Regions from separate parts of the Homo sapiens genome. Here all the other regions are linked to region 2. The links are contacts of gene promoters, found by promoter capture Hi-C in blood cells and fetal thymus (Javierre and others, 2016). All regions are on one chromosome and are shown on one strand. The core of a region is centred on a gene start or on the middle of the fragment in contact, and the rest is flanking DNA. Distances in the headings are between cores, read along the strand shown.

Evidence for each region. Contacts are between HindIII fragments. The CHiCAGO score rates a contact against its expected background, and 5 or more counts as called.
Region 1: a contact is called between a fragment that was not itself captured here and the fragment with the promoter of WNT16 in region 2, in 1 of 17 cell types (total B cells). The highest score is 5.1, in total B cells.
Region 3: a fragment that was not itself captured here is called in contact with the fragment with the promoter of WNT16 in region 2 in 1 of 17 cell types (total B cells); the score reaches 6.3 in total B cells.

Annotation. Positions count from the first base shown.
Region 1 is chr7:121,256,694-121,260,919 of GRCh38, forward strand. All of the region lies in intron 18 of CPED1 (cadherin like and PC-esterase domain containing 1), which reads left to right. The region is part of intron 1 of LOC124901735 (a long non-coding RNA gene); the gene reads right to left. Among named protein-coding and RNA genes, the nearest start is that of WNT16, 70 kb to the right of the region's middle. The HindIII fragment of the contact is 312 bases long and covers 2,220-2,531 here.
Region 2 is chr7:121,327,517-121,331,844 of GRCh38, forward strand. It overlaps WNT16 (Wnt family member 16), which reads left to right and starts at 1,484. Exons shown (of 4, transcript NM_057168.2): 1 at 1,484-1,871; 2 at 2,051-2,301; 3 at 4,162-4,328. The coding sequence starts at 1,777. The HindIII fragment of the contact is 8,913 bases long and covers 1-4,328 here.
Region 3 is chr7:121,241,504-121,246,094 of GRCh38, forward strand. It overlaps CPED1 (cadherin like and PC-esterase domain containing 1), which reads left to right. Exons shown (of 23, transcript NM_024913.5): 18 at 2,699-2,835. All of the region lies in intron 1 of LOC124901735 (a long non-coding RNA gene), which reads right to left. Among named protein-coding and RNA genes, the nearest start is that of WNT16, 85 kb to the right of the region's middle. The HindIII fragment of the contact is 1,455 bases long and covers 527-1,981 here.

The sequences.
Region 1 (4,226 bases), core at 1,126-3,625, 70 kb before region 2:
TACTGGGTATATTTATTTATTTATTTCCTTCCCAAAGGAAATAAATTGTTCTGCCAAAAAGACGCATGCACTCGTATGTTCATCACCACACTATTCACAATAGCAAAGACATGGAATCAACCTAGGTGCCCTTCAATGGTGAACTGGATAAAGAAAATGTGGTACATATATACATTCCATGGAATACTACACAGTCATAAAAAGAGCAAAATCGCATCCTTTGCAGAAACATGAATGCAGCTGGAGGCCATAATTCTAAGCAAATTAACACAGGAACAGAAAATAAAATACTACATTTTCTCACTTGTAAGTGAGAGCTAAACATTAAGCAGACATGGACATAAACATGGGAACAATAGATGCTACAGACTACTGGGGACGAAAGGGAGGGGCTATAGGTAGAAAAATTACCTATTGGGTACTGTGCTCACTATCTGCATAGCAGGATCCATATCTCAAACCTCAGCATCATGCAATATACTCATGCAGCAAACCTGCACACATACGCCATATCTGCAATAAAAGTTGAAGTTTGGGGAAAAAAAGACAATAGAAGAGCAATGAACCAAGCACAAGACCCTTCAAAGCATGTGGCCCTGCAAGACCGTCCAGGTCACATGCCCATGAAGCCAGCTTGGGTGGTAAAGCATAGTTGGTTAAGCATGAAGAGATATTTTTAAATATTTCTGTATGATTTTCATTTTTACAGTGTGTGAGCACTGTTTTCTTAATCTAAAAGTCTGTATTTGAAAAGGTTGTATAAATTAGAACCAAGGCAGAGGCAGTGGAAATGCAGAGGGGAGAGCCTGAGAAAGATATTTTTTTTTTATTCAGAATCACAGGAGTTAGCCAAAAACAGTCAGGTGTATACACTCATATTTCACACAACACAGAGATAATTGCGTAAACATTCACAAATACAACTATGACTAGCACTTATTTTAAGAAAGCTTCACTTATGAATAGGAGTAGGTGAGCAAAGGGTTTTCCCGGTACATCTATTTCTTACTTTCCATGAGAATGATAAAAATATACAAAACAATCCTGTAATTTTTCTCTTTCATTACTAAGACAAATAAGTTCTCATCCTACCCAGAATGTTCTATAATCTCCAACCCATTCCAAAGACAAATAAATGTTAAAGCATAACAGTTACAAAAATAGAAATACAACTAATATATTTTGTTTTCTATACACATTATATACTGACCTTTTTTACCTCTCTTCCTACCATGTTATATATTCAATGAAAGTAACATTATTTGAGCAACATTATACAGAAATTTCTTCCACATATACATAAGGACAGCAGGACATTAATGGAGTAGGAAAAGTCTCAGGCTGGCAATCAGGAAGCCTAAGCTACAGTTCTGATCCCACCAGATGAAATGATTCTTTTAGATATTAAACTCATCAGATTAACTGTGCTGCCCCATATCAGCAATGTTGCAATATCAGTTACCCTAATATGTTACCACAGAGTAGAGTCCAGCTGAACACTTAAAAAGTTAACTTCTGAATACTTTTTACAACTTTTTTGATATTATGTTGTTCATTCATTCAATGTTTGTTGAACCAAATATCTGTTCCAGGAGCACATATATGATCCTTCAAGGTGCTCAGTTTCTAGTGGAAGAAGACAAATGAGAGAAACAATCATTGCAATATAGCACAATAATTGCAATAGTAGAAAGTAGAGGTGGGCACTGGATCCAGCCTGGAAAGATCTAGAAAAGTTGCCAGAAGAAAATTGCCTAGGCAGAGTGGTGTTTGCAGTGAAAGGCAATCTATGAGTCACATTACTTTGAAAGAAGTTAATTGAACTAGAAAAATACGGATATTTATTTTTTGCAAAAGCATCTACTCTGAGAATCCTATCACTCAAGCCTTATGCTGCTGTCTTTGATTTGCTTTCTACTGGAGGAACAGACAATGGAGTGCTAAGAAGGCAGGAACTACCTATGAGAAGGCACTAGAGAAGATTCTGAGGTTCCCACTTCAGTGTGCTCCAGTTCACATATCTTGGATTATGTAAAATTGTGTACGTACCTAAATACACAGTTTTAACAATATAGTTGCCTTCCTGAAGACTTTCAATTAATATGTAAAATTCGAATTTTTAACAGTGAGAATCCAGAAGTTTCACTGTTGCCAGGAATAAATAGTTCAAAATATTGTGCTACAAAAACTTTATTTTCAATGCTAATCACATCACAGCAAGCTTCTACTTTGGGAACATATTAAAGTGAATTGTCTCTCTCTGAAGAATTGAATTAAAAGGCAATGGAATTTGGCCAGGGCATTGAGAACTATTAGAAAGTTAGGCCTTCAAATAGTGCTCTGCTTTCTTTAGAATCTCTAAGTAGTAATTTCTCTCAGCTGAATTTCCTTATGTTGTTATTGTGACCTTTTATATCTTTTTCCTACTGTTGTACATTGATGAATGCCAAGACTGTACTTGCAAATAGAAGCCCACCTGCCTATAGGGAAGGAACAAGACACAAATCAGTGGAGATCTGAAAAGGTGCTCAAGCTTCTAGTAATTTTGACCAGGAATCTAACCACACTTAATGGCCTGTGAGCAGGATCATACTTCATATACCTCAGTCATTTGTCTTCATTGCAGCAACATGAACAGGAGGCTGATCTTGGGTGGAAAGTTGGAACAAGTTTTCCCCCTCTGAACATTAGGTGAATATAGGACACTTTTGAACTCTAAATGTATCCAAATAATTTCATTTATAGATTTATTTCACTTACAAGTTTTTGTATATGTACATAGGTTTTGTGATATACAATTGTGTTGAATTAAAGGAAAATCAATTGAAAAAAAGCAAGCTATGTATTAAATGATATGTTCACACATTTCTTTAAATAGATACCTACCTCTTTATAAATGCTGAATGGAACACATAGAAATTATGAGAACATAATTTTGTAATCACAGGGTAAAATATGTAGGAAATAGTTTAGAAATATGACAATCAAATTTACAACTGCAAAAACTTAGAAGCCTGACCTAACTGAATTAAACAAGCCTTTATTTTGTTTGTCAGTGGAAAACAGTTCAGAATTTAAGCCAGTAATAAAATATCTGAGAGGAGGGTGCAATTAAGAAAGGGAAATATAAAAAGGCAATATTTACAAAAAGTACTTAAACTCAGCTGTTAAAACAGGGAATGTAACTTAAATTTTTAAGTAATGTTTTCATGTTAAGTAGTGTCTTGGACTTAAAGGTGTTTAAATTTTCAAAGTGTGGCTAATTTAAAATAATATGTTCTGACTAATATGTGAATTCCATTATGGTTACGTAATTCATTATTGCCTGTCAGTTTCAGTAAATCAGTCAGATATAAGGAAAGAGTGCACCTCACTCTTACCAGGAAATGATGACTTACACATGATGCCCTCCTTCGCATTCAATAAATACTACAACAATCCAGAGATAATGGCAATGTAGACAAATAATTTTGTTCCAAGCAGCTAGAAGAGCTATGCCTAGGTGATGTTGTAGAGTTGCTTGCTTCGCGTTTTTTTTTTTTTTTTTTTTTTTTTGCCAAATTTTATGTCTGAGAGTGATTTGCCTAAGTGTCAATCTTATATTTGTTTTTGACTGCAAACATCAATTTGGCTGCTCATCTACATCCAACTTAATTAAAATGCACAATTGGAAAACATTTATTGTAACCGCATCACATTTCACAGAGGGATGCTTTGTTGAGCTAGTTTTTCATCATGACCTAAATATCATTAGCCGTCTGACCAGTCTCAGCTTCATATTACAACTGAACCACCCCTTTCATCATTTAGAAATGCATGTTTATCTTAGGAGATCAGTGGTTTTCGACCTTAGGGCTCATCAGTATCACTGTAGAGCTTTCTAAATATGTGGGTTATGCTTGGCTCTGGACCTAGATGTAACAAATAAGACTCCTCCTTACCTCACTTTTATTTCCCTTATCTATAGCAATGTGAAAGCTCTCCAGTAAACAGGCATTACCTGGATTCATGGACAATTAGCTCTTACTGCACTCCTATATAACTTCCCCTTTGGGAAGGTTCTAGTGGGTTCCTGTTAACTAGGCTCAGTCTTGTGTTGAAATCTACGTGCACTTTATTGGATCCAGAGAAAAGCTACCACTTCTGTAAATATTGACGATAAAACTGATGTGATGCAGGAGGAAAGAAAGGAAAAAGGAAAATGATTTTAATTTTTTTTCTTTTTC
Region 2 (4,328 bases), core at 234-2,733:
ATTTTGTATTTTTAGCAGGGACAGGGTTTCACCATGTTGGCCATGCTGGTCTTGAACTCCTGACCTCTGGTGATCCGCCCATCTTGGCCTCCAAAAGTGCTGGGATTACAGGTGTGAGCCACTGCACCTGGCCCCAAATCCTTTATTTAAGTAATTTTGGCTTTGGGTACCCACTGAGCTGATACGTCCACCATGGGAATGTATTAACACTTCAAAAGATCTCTAAGGACAGATAATGCTTCTTAGAAACATTTCTTGTGTCTAATTAGGTGAGGCAGGCTTTCCCAATACCACAGCTAAACACGTTGCACTTGCCTTCAGATAACTCTCGGAGACCTTCCATCCTACAAAACACTGATTAACTAACCTTCCAAATCTGCCAGTAACTGGAACACTTCCTGCTTCTGAACTATCTTCGGCTCCAGGGAGTACCCTGCTAGATTCTTTAATCTCTCTTACTGATCATCTAAACGTATTTTCTTTTACACTTGTGTATGGTTTATTTGTACAGTTGTGGGAAGAGAGCTTGTCTTTATAAATTCCCACAGGACTAGGCACACAGCAGGTATTTAATAAGTACGTTTTTAAAAATGTGTCTTCCATGTGTAGCCCTGTCCTGCAGGGACGCATCGGGTAGGTGGCAAAGGGGTGCCCAATCCTAGCGAACTTTCAACTGAGGTTGGGGGAGAAGGGCAGGGACCCTCCCACCATGAGAATCGTAAGGTAGGACTGGAGAAAAAGATCAGAGCACATCTCTCATGTACTCTAGAACTCTCCAGAAACCTCTCACTTTCTTTGTCCCCATCTTCTGCAGGGGACTTACAGCGTTCTCAGGGACTGCAGGAAATAAGACAAATAGGGAAAAGGAAATCACAGAGCACGATTGAAATATGGCAGATGAGATGCTAGACTGGAATCTTCTCTTTCGCTCAAAATAAATGCATACATAAATGACAGTGATTGTAAGCCTGACAGCACTTCACCCACTCTCTAAAGTCTCCTGACAGTGGGACCTCAAGCAGGGGACTGGAAGGTTAATTTGTTCGGTACCAACTCTGACTCAAAAAGATTATTCTCCTGTGAGGTGAAGGAGAAGAAAAAAAGGTCAGTGACATTTTCCAGCCACTACACCCAGAGGGTAACCCAGATGTTGGTGGGATGGGTGGGACTCATCAAACCCACGCTTTCCCCCAAGGTTGCTAAGACAGAGCGTCCTGTTAGTCTTCGGGTTGAATCAACCCCACAACGACCCGTTCTAAGGAGACTGTGACAGCAGGAAAGGTCATGACACACCCAGGTCTGGACACGCTGTCCCTGAGGCCAGTGCCCGGAGCGCCCCCCGCGGAGCCGCTCTCCACCAATAAGAGCCTGAGGTCCCGAGATGATGAGATGCGGGGCCGCTGCTCAGCCAATCAGGCTCCAGGCGCGGCCAGGGGGAGGAGATGGGAGGAGAGGCCGGGGGCGATGGAGACGCGGATACATCAACAGAAGTTTCTCACCTAGGAATGCGAGGGGCGCTCCCGCATCTCCTGCACATCTCCACCCCTGCGCAGGAGGAGATCCCCAGGCTGCTCTCTCCATCTCTCCTACAGCTCCCTGCAAACGAGGGGGAAGCTGCTGAGAGTCCCTATCACTGCTGGCCTTTTAATGTTGTATGCAAGGAGGAAGAGGGCGAGGGATAACTTGGTGCTGGACAACTGACCTGCGGCCCGAAGGGCCTCTGGGGAGGGGGTGCAAAAGAGGAGCGGCTGGGCTGGGGGACTCCATGCGGGGGCGATGGACAGGGCGGCGCTCCTGGGACTGGCCCGCTTGTGCGCGCTGTGGGCAGCCCTGCTCGTGCTGTTCCCCTACGGAGCCCAAGGAAACTGGATGTGAGTATGGAGGTGGCAGGGAAGCATCGGGTAGGTGGCAAAAGGGGTGCCCAATCCTAGGGAACTTTCAACTGAGGCTGGGGGAGAAGGGCGGGGACCCTTAGACGAGTGACCTAATTTTTCGGAAAACATCTGGAATTGGGGAGCGGCTTAACGCTACGGGCGGCCGTGTCTTACAGGTGGTTGGGCATTGCCTCCTTCGGGGTTCCAGAGAAGCTGGGCTGCGCCAATTTGCCGCTGAACAGCCGCCAGAAGGAGCTGTGCAAGAGGAAACCGTACCTGCTGCCGAGCATCCGAGAGGGCGCCCGGCTGGGCATTCAGGAGTGCGGGAGCCAGTTCAGACACGAGAGATGGAACTGCATGATCACCGCCGCCGCCACTACCGCCCCGATGGGCGCCAGCCCCCTCTTTGGCTACGAGCTGAGCAGCGGTGAGTCCTGGGTCCTTAGGGGTTGGTGGGGGACGGAAGGCGACAACTCCTCCACCGGTTCCTGCAAATAAAGTAAATAGTGCTACGTGGTCCTGTAGCTCTCTAAGTTCCAGAAGAAGCCCTTTAGTGCACGGGGATTGAGAGCTACAAAGGCCAGACCTGGGGAGCAGGTGCGAGCCTGGAGGGAGGTGACTCCCCAGTTCCAGAGCGGAGCTCTAGGGGCTGGAGCTCTTCCTCTTTCCTGCGGTGCCCCGCCAGAGTTGGAAAAAAAACTCTAATTCTCCTACCCCGCCGACCCCCTCGGACCCCGTAGCGCCCCCCTACGTGGGTGACCAGCTGGAGAAACATGATGTCGGCAGCGGGGAATGCGGCTGCCGCATCTGCTTTGATTTAACCAACTCCGCTGCGCACCAAACCCCGGACAAGTGGCTAATTGCAGCGAAGCCCCACCTTTATTGGCTCCTAGGAGCACCGAGTTGACAGAATAATGGTGACTTTTAAAGCGACTGTCCGCGACCACCCAACGTGCGGCTAACCTGAGCAGGACCACTTGTGCGCTTCTCGTTTCTTTGGCTTTTCTATCTTTCCCTCCTCGGCGCACTCCCGCGGCGCGGGAAGCTGCAGGAAAACAAAGTTCCACTTCCACGTGCGTAGTGACTTGGTAAGGATAAAGGTACAGGGAGCCAGGATTGTTCCTGGAATATCAACAGATCCAAAGAATGTTAGGACTGGGGCGCTGAAGGATGCGCTGTCGTTTTTCATGTTCATTTCCGTTCCCCCTCCGCCTTTGACCCTTGTCCACGCAGTCCCTGCGCGCACCCCCGCCGAGCCGCGCACCTCCCCCGCGGCGTTCTGGCCGGCACGCCCTTCCGAAGGAGCCCTGGTCCCCGTAGAGAGAAAAAAAAAAAAAAAAAAAAAAGAGACAGAAAGAAAAAAAATAGATGTGTTTTTCACAGTTGCTGAAATGCATCAGCTGTTGAAAAGGTTTATTGGACAGCGGGCATGAAACTGTTTCTACTCCAAACTAAACATCTGGAAAGAAAAAAAAAAAGTCGCCTGCTGATTCCCTTCTAGTCCATGTTATTAATGTTTTAATGGACTTTAATTTTCAAAGATTTTAGCTCAAACTCTACTGCAGGTGTGCTAAATGCATAATTTTCAATATTCAATATTTTTAATAGAATTATGTTTTTGCTAGTGACATTTTAATTATCTTACCTTTCATTGCCTTTAAGACTGTAAGAGGAGTAGCTAATACTATATAAAATGTTTAACTGTTTCATGTTAATGTGAGACTAATCTTTAATGTGAAAATATACGGTACCGTTTACTAATTGCTTTGGTCTTTCCTTAATTTTAATTTTCATTCTGACACGTATTATTTATGCAAACAAAAATCACACCAAAATGTTCAGCTTGTGTTCTGTGAGAGCACATTTTAAATTTCAAAAGAAAAGCAATCTAGTGTTCTTTGGGTGTTGTATTACCGTTTACAGTATCTATGCAAAGAATTTTTAATTCAGCATGTATTACTGAGCTATGACTGTCAACTGTGCACTGAACTGGGTGCAAACATACATTTCAAATTTAAAAAATAAAGAGATGATTTTAAGGTAAAGGGACAATGTATGACCATACAGTATATGACAATCTCTTCAAGTGGAATACTGAAAATTAATGTTGCTTTTTAAGAGACTAGAACAAGAGCAAATCTTCCTTTCTAAATATGTACTCGTTAACGCATCCATTGTAAGCAACTGAAAAATTACTTGTCCAGTAAGATCATGAGTAGGAGGCTTTCTTCTGAACATAAACAGAAGTTGCCTGGTTCTCTAATTTAGCAATTTATATTTTTTCTAGGCACCAAAGAGACAGCATTTATTTATGCTGTGATGGCTGCAGGCCTGGTGCATTCTGTGACCAGGTCATGCAGTGCAGGCAACATGACAGAGTGTTCCTGTGACACCACCTTGCAGAACGGCGGCTCAGCAAGTGAAGGCTGGCACTGGGGGGGCTGCTCCGATGAT
Region 3 (4,591 bases), core at 4-2,503, 86 kb before region 2:
GCCATTCTCTACAACCAGAAACTTTAGAAACATCTTTCACATAGCAGACCCTCGTTTTCTCCAAGATATGCAGTCAGTTCTTCTGGCTCACTCCTGTCAGGCCCATCTCTTCACTGTACCTAAAGTACCACTCCTTCCAGGTCTTCAAATCTTATCTGTCCCTAAAGGCCTGTTCACATATTATCTGCTTCATGGACCCTTCCAGAAAACTCTGACCTCCATGACTCTTTCTCTATTTGGAACAATTGTGGCTCACTGAGAGTAGAGGTGGGAAAATACATAAAATATATATGTTGACTATTAGGTAATCAGGCACTATGGCAGGTGTTATACATATTTTCCTTGTGGAGAAGTAAATTTAATCATGAAAAGATTAAGTAATTTGTCTAATTTAAACAGTGAGTTTTATCCTTGGCAGCATATTGGAATCACCAAAGAAGCATTAAAAAATACTGATTTCTGAGCCCCATCCCCATTGATTCTGATTCAATGTCTGGGGTACAATCTGGGTGTGGGAATTTTTAAAAGCTTTCCAAGTGACTCTAATATGTAGTCAATGTTGAGGTCCGCAGGGCCAGTTGGAGATAGAGCCCAGGTGTGCATGCTCTCCAAAGCCCCAACTCTTTACCACACAGATATTTTTACTCCATTATGCATTACTTGTTTTTACGCTATAGTTATTCTATATTACGTATAAATTATAATCTTCTAACCTGAGTATAAATTTTTGAGGTTTAGCATTATAGTTAAGAGCATGGACTCTGGAGCTGACTGCCCTGCTCAAATCCTAGTTCTACTACTTACTAACTAGAGGATCTCAGACAAGTTCCTGAGCCCTGGTTAAGGAGATGATAACAGGGTTGTTGATGTTTAAATATGTTGATAAATTAAAGTTTTCAGAATATTCCTAGCATTTGGGAGGTACTGAAAAATGTCAACTATTCTTTAAAAATTATTATGATATTTTAACACCAATAATGCCTAACACTTCAACAGAGTATATACTTAATGTATTAAACTTAAATCCTTCTGGAGAGTCATATGTATATGGAGACATAAAGGTTAATTTATCATTCCTGAAATTGCATAGAAAGTATTTAGTAGATAGACATTTAATAAAGCAGTTTTCTGTAATCCTCATTACATGTAAAAATCAAAGAAAAGGAAAAAATGGTGGTAAGAAGAACAAATGACTCTGCATTCCTTTTGAAAATTTGGTATTTCTCTTCCAGTTGACATTGTACCCCTCAAAGTTATTGTATATTTTCTTTCCTTTCCTGGAGTTCATACTTTTCTCATCTCCTTTCCCTCCGATTTTCTTTTATCTCTTCCAGTTTCTCTCTCTTAATATACCTACATTTCTTTCTCTTTCTGTGTTCAATCAGTAAGAGCCATAAACTATATCATCTTTCATATTTTATATTAATAACTATTTCCACATACACAAACACATTCACAATTCTAACATCCCTGAAGTCATGAATATAAAATGCACTATATTCATCTCCTAAAAACAGAAATCCTTTCCCCTAAAATTAATATAACACCAGATACCATTATTAGCAGTACCACTAATCAAAGCCAGAATGGACAAAGTTTTTAAGTTTTTTCCTTTCTAACTCAAGAACTATCTGGGTGATATTTAGCTCCTCAGTTTTGAAGGGTAAACATATACTAGTAACATAAGCAAGATATTTAGGGTAAGGAGAGTGATTATCAGAGAAATAATTGCATATGTTCTCCAACAAGGAGAGAAATAACCACTCCATATTTGTTCATATGATGTGCTATGTTCACACTCAATTCCTGAAACGATGAACAAGGAAAAAAAAACAAAAAAATTATATTTTTCTACCACATTATTAATGTATCCACTCACACTAAAAGCTGAAGTGTTTTGCATGAATGTTGTTTTATCAGTAAAACAGGAAAGATCTTAAATGCATAGAGAATATTCATTTATTTTATAAACATTTGCTAAAGCTTGGGACCTACTTTCTACCTGAACTCTGTTAGTAACAAAAGATGAATACAATATTGCAAATGTGTCTTAAATACATTATTCCATTACATTGTTACACCAATCATGTGAGAAGAACTGTACACACCTCATCTAACAGATGAAGAAATTCAGGCAACAGCTAGAAAGAGGTGAAGACATTCACACGAAAAAGGCCATCAATCAAATCAAAGAAAAATAACTAATCTTCAAAATAATAAATTATCATCATACTGAAGTAGTTCTCTTGTATCTTAAATCCCTTGAGAGCAGGGAATAGATCTATTATACTTATGGACAGAGAACCTATGCATGTGTTAGGCTAATAAATATTTGAGGCTAACTGCCAATTTGTGGGGCTCCCAGTCTATTAATGCTTTGGTCTTACTGAAGTGTTCAATGTACTGTTTAAAAATAGGTAATGATTGAGTAATACTTAGATTTTTAATAAGTATAAGGTTTCATGGAACAGAGCTCATACTTGATTTTAGCATGAAATGTGTTATTTCAGAACATTACTTAATGTTGCTATTCTATTTGGTTGGCAGGAAGCCATGCCTTCATTATTCCACTAGATTTAAAGGATAAGGATGGTCTTACTATAATTTCTGAAATGGTGTGCCATAGCTGAATTTTAAAGTTACTTACAAACTTCACCAGCAGAAACAGAACCAAAGAAAGTTTTGCCATCTATTCCAGGCCAGTGGATTGTGCCTTGCCTTAGTTGTTCGGACAACAGGACGTGTGACTGGAGAGAAATAACCTGGCAGCCCCACAACTGCCAATATGGTGTCCTAACTAAGCCTCAACTCCAGCAGTGCCTGGGAGGAAGGAAGGTAGGTTCTGGATCTAGTGGGGGAAGCCTTTAATGTATGCCACCTGAAGTACTAAAAATCGTATAGTTGTATCTACTAGACCAATTCCTGCTGTCTCACAGCAGAGGAAAACTAACTGAATGCAATATGGCTTTTTGAATCATGTATAGATGTTATCATAGAATAGCCTGAACAATTCCCGCTCCAAATGTTCAGTTTTCTCCAAGTAACTCTGTTTGACAGATGGAGGATATTAAAGTCTTGTCCTATGCTGACCCGATTCCATGCTGTTTTCTCAGCACAAATTGGTAGGAGCTTGCCACGTCAACTGACAGTTGGCAGTTGAGAGCAGCTGGCCTTGTCAACTGCAGCTCTGGCAGGCACTGCTGTGAAAACAGACATCTGCAGCTCAGCACAGGAAATCAAAAGGTCCTGCATGTGAGACTCACTTCTAGAGCTTTCCAAGTGCATGGGATTGTTTTTACGCACTAACCTTACTGATCTTCTTTCATATTCCTGGGCAGGTCTCACATGGACCTCACTAGGCTGATTTTTCCTTTAGTGAGGCTTCTAAGCTGATTTCTGGGACATGCAGTGTCTTCTTGCTAGGCATGCTCTGACTAGGTAGAGTCTGGCAGAACTCTCGGATATGCAAAATGGGCACATAGACTGAGATGCTTGGTTAACATCAAGTAAGTAATCCTTAACCCAATTTTCAAAGTGCTTTTTATTAGATGGACATTTCCTTATACAGTTTGTAAGCTCTCACACATGAGCAAGACTGATTTCAAAAGCTGATTTTCACAAAGCTCTATTAAAACACATAGAAAAAAAGGCCTGGGCAGAAGGTATGCCAATTTACTAGCAAATAGTTAAAGAAGAATAACAGGAGCTGAGGGGCAGGACAGAAAGATGGACATCTTCTTCATGGTGATTTCAATATAAATGTTCCAATTTTCATGATTGAGAATGTCTCTAAAGATCAATCAGTAGTGTTAGTTCCTTTTTTTAAAAAAAGAAGGGAAGAAAATCATTTAGGAACTTATGTTGCAGTGTTATTAATTGAGCATTGATTTTGTGCAAGAAACTGTGTTTCTTGCTAAATTTGTTACACTTTAAATCCCACCAGACTGTAAGCTTCAAAAGGGCAGGGAATGTGTTTAATCCACCGCCATAATCTCATTGTTGAGCATAATTTTTGACGCAGAATAGTAACTTAATAAATATTTATCAAGTAAATGAATAAATTAAAAGTGTATTTATTCCTAATTGCAGCTAAGGTAGATATTATCATATCTTTTTTCTGCTTAAGATAAGTAAAGCTCAGAGAGATTGAGTAATTCACTGATGATCATACATGTATGGGTGTGGCTACTCCACAGGCATTTTTTTTTTTTTTGTCTCACACTGTCACCCAGGCTGGAGTGCAATGGCGTGATCTCAGCTCAATGCAACCTCCACCTCCTAGGTTCAAGCGCGTCTCCTGCCTCAGCCTCCCGAGTAGCTGGGATTACAGGCGCCTGCCACCACGCCTGGCTAATTTTTTGTAATTATAGTAGAGACGGGGTTTCACTATGTTGGCCAGGGCTGGTCTCGAACTCCTGACCTCAAGTGATCCACCCGCCTCGGCCTCCCTAAGTGCTGGGATTACAGGTGTGAGCCACCATGCCCAGCCCTCCACAGGCATTTTAAACCATCACCTTGGATAATCCAGCCTCCATATCCTATAAATGTTGCACTGGGAGCAATGACAATAGCTGTTGCCACACAGCCAGAC